2 separate regions of the Homo sapiens genome follow, and region 2 is linked to region 1. The links are contacts of gene promoters, found by promoter capture Hi-C in blood cells and fetal thymus (Javierre and others, 2016). All regions are on one chromosome and are shown on one strand. The core of a region is centred on a gene start or on the middle of the fragment in contact, and the rest is flanking DNA. Distances in the headings are between cores, read along the strand shown. Region 1 holds the start of MRPS28 (mitochondrial ribosomal protein S28). Region 2 has its middle 2.4 kb from the start of PAG1.

Region 1 (3,908 bases), core at 479-2,978:
GAGACAGGGTTTCACCATGTTGGCCAGGCTGATCTCGAACTCCTGACTTCAGGTGATCTGCCCTCCTTGGCCTCCCAAAGTGCTGGGATTACAGGTGTGAGCCACCACGCCAGGGGTGTGTTTTTACGGATACTTGAGTTTTGCACTTTTCACCCATGCTGGAGTGAAGTGGCAGGAACATAGCTCACTGCAGCCTCAAACTCCTGGGCTCAAGTGATCCTCCTCCATCAGCCTCCCAAGTAGCCGGGACTACAGGCATGCACCACTGCCCCAGGCTGATTTTTCTATTTTTTGGTAGAGACTGGTTCTTGCTATGGCCCAAGCTGGTCTCGGACTCCTCATCTCAAGCAATCCTCCCTCCTCAACCTCACAAAGTGCTGGGATTACAAGTGTAAGCCACCCTGCCCAGTCAGACTGAGGGTTCTTGAAGACCACTGGCCATGCTCTTTACAATTTACCACACTTTCTCCTGAAAAAAAGTGGAAGTAGCACTATCCGTAGAAAATAATGTTCTAGGCAAGAGTCCATTAATAGTCTCGGGAGATAAACAGTTTTAACTGCCAAGAGGGAGAACTCACCTGGAGAATTTAATGAATTTGTAAGGACTACCATACAGTTAGCTAGTAATAATTTTATGTGATTCATACAATTGTGCACCATTCTGAGATCAGTGTACTTCGTGTTCTTAACACTATCTGTACCATTAGAGAGCATCAGAAAAGCTTAAAACCCATAGTCAAGGCATTCTTAAAATAGGGTCTGTGATCATAAAAATTCTTTCTCTCGAAGTACTTGCAAATGAACTGGAAAGGTGTGTGCCCCCAAAATAAAACTAACTGTGGATTAATATTAAACTGCTGGGTCAAAGATAGACGGACAACTAATTAATAAACACTTAAGAATGATGTTAGGCTGTTTTGAACAGGGTGGGTAAATTTTGGGAATTAACACTGCAGGAGAAAAGGGAAAGAAAATCCAGAGTGAGGGTGGGGGCCTACGGCGGTGCAATACTTAGGGACATTCCAAAACTTCTGAACTCCTAAGTTAGATAATAGGTATCTAGAGGTGTCAAAACATTTCAGAAAAACTATTTTTGTGGCGTGAGTGGACTGGCTGCAGAAGTGGCAAAGGACAAACTTGGATGCAGGGTTTGGCAAATGTTGGGTGAGCCCTAATCTGTGCCTGGTGCTAGGGACCCTACAGCAAAGTTCCTCTTTTCAAAGTTTAAAAAGTTGGGAGTAGACACTAAATATTATTAAATATTTAATATTAATATGTGGCATATTAGAAAGTGCTACATGGTACTAAGAAAAACAGGTGCCAGAGAGTCTGCATTTGGGCTTCCACTTCTAAATAGGGTAATCAAGGAGACCCTCATATTTGAGTGAAGACCCCAAACTCGAGTGCTGGCGGCCATGTAGGGGGGACGGCAGGGCGGGAGAACGAGCGTCGCGTTAGCAGAATTTACAGTACAATGGGGTCCAACGGATGCCCAGGAAGGCGAAATTCCTGCAAGTTAAACGCACTTCTAACGCAAAACTTAACCAGGCCCCTTTCCAACTATTTAGCCCACCAATTTTAGCTTAAGTCTCTTCTTCCCCACGCCACTCCCAGATGAAAGGAAGACACGCCTCGTTGGCCTCCAGAGCTCTGCGTCCGGGGGGCGGACCTCTCATAGCTCCGCCCCGTGACCCGCGCGCTTGCGGAGGGGAGGTCAAAGGTCAGAGGTAAAGAAGTCATGGCGGCGCTGTGTCGGACCCGTGCTGTGGCTGCCGAGAGCCATTTTCTGCGAGTGTTTCTCTTCTTCAGGCCCTTTCGGGGTGTAGGCACTGAGAGTGGATCCGAAAGTGGTAGTTCCAATGCCAAGGAGCCTAAGACGCGCGCAGGCGGTTTCGCGAGCGCGTTGGAGCGGCACTCGGAGCTTCTACAGAAGGTGGAGCCCCTACAGAAGGTGGAGCCCGGGCGGGTGAGAGGGAGTCGCGGGAATTACGCCAACGACGCGGTGGGCGGGGTCGGGAATAGGGGCGGAGCCTGGCTTAGGAAGGGGAGCTGAGGTCCGGGGCCCAGTTTTCCGGAGTTGCGGTGCGTTGTGGCTCAGCCCTCGGCCCCTAGAATCTGTGCTTGGTGTTTTTCTTCCTTTCGTTGTCCTTTTGTGTGGCATTTGCGTACTGGGCCGGGTCTGTCCACACTGCGCTTGTTTTCCTGGGATTGAATGCTGGTGGGAAGGTAACCAGCGGGGAGCGCTGCTGGGGAGGCGATCTAGGGCGATTCCTGGGACGCTAAGGAGAATGGGACTCACACGGAGAGGCAGGGCTCTGCTGGGTCTTGTTCTGAACAGTAGCTCTAGCATGGAGCTTGCTGTCTGGAGTAGAAGGCCCTTCATAAACATTTGTTAATTTAATGACTGGGTGATGAATCACTTTCTGAACTTGGGCAAGTGATTTAACTTGTCAGCGCTTCACCTCTCTTTTGTAAATGTCTTCTTTTTTTAAAAAGTAAAGTAAAATCTCCGTTTGTCTCAGCCAGTACTTTTGTAAAATACCATAAATTTATAGATAAATGAAATGGAAGAAATAAAATTACAAGCCTAAGTTTTTAATAATTAAACTCAGCAGACATGAAATTGAATTATATACAAATAAACTCTCAATTTCTGTATTTTTCTTCCTAGGGAGTAGTACCAAACAGTTCACAAGACTGGCAGTGTCCTGGGTTATAGGGTCATTTTAGTAGCAATTACTGATGTCAAAATTTTTCTGAAATCCAAGGACTAGAAGAAGCCTGGTATATTAGTTTATTATTTTCTGTTGTAACAAATTACTACAAATTTAGTGGCGTAAAACACAGGAAATGTGTTGTTGTTAGGGTTGTGAGAAGTCAGACGGGATCTCACTGGTCTAAAATCAAGGTGTTGGTGAAGTTGTGTTCTTTTCCGTAGCTTCTAGGAGAATCTCTTCCTGGCCTGTCTTTTCTGCCTCTGTTTTCTACTTTTTTGTTTTTTGGATTTTTTTGTTTGTTTTGTTGTTTTTTGAGACAGGGTCTCGCTCTGTCACCCACGCTGGAGTGTGGTGGCATGATCTCAGTTCACTGCTAAACCCCCTGGGCTCAAGTGATCCTCCTGCTTCATAGCTGGGACCGCAGGTGTGCACCACCACTCTGGGCTAATTGTTTTTTCTGTTTTTTTTTGTAGAGATGGGGTTTTGCCATGTTGCCCAGGCTGGTCTTGAACTCCTGGGTTCAAGTGATCCTCCTGCGTTGGCCTCCCAAAGTGCTGGGATTACAGATGACAGATGTGAGCCACCTGGCCTGGCTGACCCCGCCCGGCCCCGCCCCCCCCGCCCGTCTTCTGCTTTTGAGATCCCTGTGATTACATTGGCCTCCCTAGATAATCTATTTTAAGATCAGCTGATTAGCAATCTTAATTCCACCTGCAAAGTTAATTCTCCTTTGCCACGGAAGGTAACATATTCACAAATTCTAGAGATTAGGATGTGGATGTCTTTGTAGGGGGAGGGGGCATTATTCTTTCTACCATATATGGAGAAGTCATAAAATACTAGCAGAATAGCGATGATTGACCTGAAGCCACCTAAGGGATGGATTTTAGATCCATCCTTAAGGTAAGGCCATAAGAGTTAAGTGCAGTAAGGTTGGAAACATAGAGTTCAGTGCTCCCTTCCAAATATATGTATAGGAAAGGAGTTTTTCTATTTCTTACCTAATATTTCTCACTCACGCTTCGCTCCCATTCATACCACATTCTAAGCCCCTTCGGAAACCCCCCAAAATAATTCTCAATTGCTGAGTTAACTGTGGTAAGAGTGAAAATTGTAGCATCACATGTATAGTAAGTTAAGTGTTTGAAACTAAAAATGTACTGTTTATTTAATGAAGGAAACAACCAAGGT
Region 2 (4,034 bases), core at 163-2,662, 1.1 Mb before region 1:
ACCATAATTTCTTTCTCCCGGTAGAAAGATATGAAAATGTCAAGTCCTTAAGCCTTGACTTTTCCTCTACAGTATAGTGTGAGGCTGCAGAGCTACATTAGTAGGTTTTGCCCTGATCTCCCTTGAAAGCCTTTTCTACACGATTCTCCTGTCCTCAGAGGAGCCCTAAAGTCACTCTTAAGTCTTCTGATGGAGAAGGAAAGTACTCTCTTAAAAACTACAGTTCATCATGGTTTACATTAAAATGATAAAATAGACACTAAGAGATGTCTAGTTTCAGATTTTAACTCTAGGAGAGATTTTGTAAAGCCCACCACTAATAGCTAGCATATTCGGAACCTAATATGTGCTTGAAGCTCTTGTTACTGTGTATTAGGTAATCAAAGATGGCAGTCACGTGATTACAGCTGATGGATGGAGATGCTGGGAGTGGGGGCCAGACAGCCTGTGAGGTTCGCACTGTGCAGCATGGCCTCTCCCCCAGCTGCTCTCTCCTTTTATTAGTGGGCAATTTGGTTGGGAGGGAGGAAAAAGTAACTCTTAGAGATTGAAATTGAGGGTATATTTTGTAGTAGTTCTTTAAAGCATCTATCATGGGTTTTAAGGAATTTATAATCTATTTCTTAACCTCTGATCCCTCTTTCCTATAGACAAAGTCACACGTGGAATCCTCAGCACTTTAAGTTCAGGTAAGCTGTGAGTTGCCAGCAGAGTCTTGATTGCTTGCTCTCTAATCTTGCTCACAGGCCATTGCCCAGTCTTATCTCAGAAGCTGCTGATACTCAGTCTCCACCAGCCTTTGCTCCTCAGCAACCAAAGGCCACTTCCTGCCTTCCTTCTTCCATCCCTAAATTCCATCCTGTCCCAGCCCCCGACCCCATTCCTGCCTTAGCCCAACATCCCTACCCATCACCTATTTCTTCTCAGGTTCAGGGTTATAATTAACACTCTATTAGCTTTTTTTGTTGTTAATAGAGACTTAAAAAACATTATGGAGCTAGCCTGAAAATCCTGATTATTTATTATATTGACTGCTCTAAATTGTAAGTGAGATAACTTAGACATGAACATTTACAATGCAGGCACGTCGTAAGTTTCCTGCATTAGGGCAAGAATTGGGCTTTCTAATACTTTTCTAAAGTTTCTCGGGAAAGAAGACAGGACCCTAATCTCCCCCAATCCCATCTACACCAGGGATTCAGTGATGGTTTCCAGTGAAGTTATCAGCTGCTGCATGTGTTCAAACAAGGCAAACTTTGTAATAAGCCATGTCCACAAATCAAGCACAACTTGTATTAATTTTTATGGCAAGCTTATTTTTCACCAAGTGGCATCTAATTCCTTCCTCCCAACTGTCTCACTCTTGCTAGTCACCTTGGACTCCCCACAGTTCTCTTATCTGGACTGTGTCTATGAAGTAAGTGAAGATTTTCATGTCAAAGAATCCCTTTGAGTGAAATGGATGAAGAAATGTAATTAATAAAGGTGGAGAATTTTTGAGCCTAAGCTTTCCAGCTCAGTTGGTAAGCCTGTGATTTTTAGCAGAAAGACTTTAATAAAAATCTATCCTAGGTACAGTTTCTGCATGAGGGAAGAATAGTTTCAGTGGAGTCATTAGTGTCTATATAATTGAATATCTCACTACTAGGACTTTTAGAGGCATTGAAGGAAGGAATTCTCAGCCAAAGAGTAGGCCTTGCTGACCCATAAGGAATACAGACCTCAGAGAAAAAGATGTAGCTGCGATTTCTGCCAGACAATCAATAGCAGCTGATGTGAAATAAATTCTAAATACAGACACAGTCAATATCAAGACACAGTCAATATTAAAGCACAGTCAATATAGTATCAAGACAATATTATATATTTCATGTATTTAATGCCAATAACAATGGTTCAAAATTCAATAGCAGTAGGACACACCAATTAATAGTAACTTTTTATTTAATTAAATCTTGGATCTCTTGAAATCAATATACAAATGAATTATGTAAATATTTTGATTGAAATGTCGGGCACCTAAGAAAACAATGACAACTTTGGGTTCTTCTAAAGGTCCCAACATGACTATTCTGCTACCTTCATATTTAAAATATATATATATTTCTTATTAAAAACTGAAGTAAGTTTTACAACCTGTGATGTACCAGCTCCTTCAAAGAATTCTTTTTTCTTAGGAATTAATTTCATAATCACACCGAAGAATGGCTGTAATGGAAGAGTTAGATAAGAAGTAAAGATAAAGGCAGGTAGACCACAGTTGGCAGTGTAGCATTCCCAGTCAAACCTCTGGATTAGAAGACTGTATATAACTATCACATACTTGCTTCCAAAACATTACTCAGACCGAGAGTATAGCCCATAGCATCTACCACAAGCACAAGAATTGATCCTGACACTTTTGGTTCTCTATCTAGGAGTGGCTTTGAAATACATTTGAGTTCCAATTTACTGATGGCAAATCCTGATATGAAAAATTTGGAAATGAAAAACAATCCTCAGCATGTTACTTGGTGAAAAGAGAGCAGAGGAAAAGGACAGAGGCTAGAGATTGGCTCCTGCCTGCATTCGTGAATTTGTCTAAATCACTTAGCTTCTGAGCCTGGGTAAAATGAGGATGGTAATTACACTTGTCACCAGATAACGTGAATATTGCCCTTCAAACTCCTCAATGAAGCCTGCACTGTGGAACTGCAATGTCCTAGGACCGGGTTGCTCTTAGAACATTTTGTTCTAAGTGTATCCTAACAAGTGTAGCAAAACTGGAAGACACAAAATGTATTTCCTCCCCACAAGAATGAAAGCCTTCCTAACTCCAAATTTAGGCACAGCCTGTAAAAGATGTGACTAGTAAACACAGAAACCATTTGCTTTATAAGGTCTAAATTGTCCTCTTCTCCAGAGTTGTAGAAGCCAAGTCCAACACGGAGATCCCTACTTTTATTCAAGTTCCACCATTAGTCAACTCATGTCCAGGATGTCTTCTTTAATATATAAAATGGGGATACTTTTTTATATTATTATTCAACTTAAGAGACCACTGTGAAATTTCAGTGAGGTAACGTATGTGAAATGTTATACTCCATAAGTTCTTAAACACCTGAGTTTCATACCATGCTCTGAAGCAAGAGGCCAAGTCTGGTTCCTGGGTCCGCTTCCCCAATGGGCTTTTCCAAGCTGTAGGCTGAGTCTAAACTGTTTCCTCCCACATACCCTTCCCTCTGCGACACACTAACAACATCCCTTACTCCATCACTGTCTTCCTTACCCTCTCCTGATGAGCCTTCTTCCCCAGCCACCTTTAAGCTCCCATTAATGATATGTGTAACGAGTGTTCAATAGAGTGTGTGTGTGTATATTTAATGCCATTTATATGTTTTTTCTTGCTAAGTAATGCATCATAATTTTAGAAAATTGGGACTAGTCAGATAAAGCACCCGTTGGTTTAGAATCCCTGACTCAAAGTCAGATGTCCTGAGTTCTAGACTTGGTTTGTCTCCTTGTAAGTGCAAAAGTTTATTCCCAATTCCAGGTTGCTAGTGTAAACTTGAAGTTTGGCCCAAACAAAACCCCTATCAGATTTATTTAGAGTGTTGATGCCAAATGGAATTCTAGAAGCCCACCTTTGCCAGGGGCTGAGCCAGAACCACTATCACTGGGGGTACGGCCTGGGCATTTGTTCTGCGTTTTTTATAAGCCCCTCGGGTGACTGTCAGACAGGCCAACTGTTTCAGAAGCTCTGCTCCAGGCTCTAGATCACACGTTAAGTAGCAAGGATGGGGGTCTGGACCTCCAGTATTGGCATCCTCCGAGAGCTTGTTAGAAAGGATGTCTCCCTCATTATCCCAGGCCTACTGAATCTGAATCTTGCATCTCATCACAATCCGCAGGAGATTCTGTCACACACTGAGGGTTTGAGAAGCACTGCTGTACCTTGGTATCTTTAGATACCTACTGATACCTGGGTGGGCCCCACCCAGACATTGTCCTGTACTTGTTCTGGGATGCGTCCGGGGCAAAGGGTTCTTACAAGC

What was found. Contacts are between HindIII fragments. The CHiCAGO score rates a contact against its expected background, and 5 or more counts as called.
Region 2: a contact is called between a fragment that was not itself captured here and the fragment with the promoter of MRPS28 in region 1, in 1 of 17 cell types (fetal thymus). The highest score is 5.4, in fetal thymus.

Annotation. Positions count from the first base shown.
Region 1 is chr8:80,028,079-80,031,986 of GRCh38, reverse strand. It overlaps MRPS28 (mitochondrial ribosomal protein S28), which reads left to right and starts at 1,728. Exons shown (of 3, transcript NM_014018.3): 1 at 1,728-1,951. The coding sequence starts at 1,739. The region is part of intron 5 of TPD52-MRPS28 (TPD52-MRPS28 readthrough); the gene reads left to right. It also overlaps a transcript of TPD52 not described here. RefSeq lists an enhancer at 1,576-2,005. The HindIII fragment of the contact is 3,845 bases long and covers 725-3,908 here.
Region 2 is chr8:81,112,478-81,116,511 of GRCh38, reverse strand. No RefSeq gene overlaps it. Among named protein-coding and RNA genes, the nearest start is that of PAG1, 2.4 kb to the right of the region's middle. The HindIII fragment of the contact is 195 bases long and covers 1,315-1,509 here.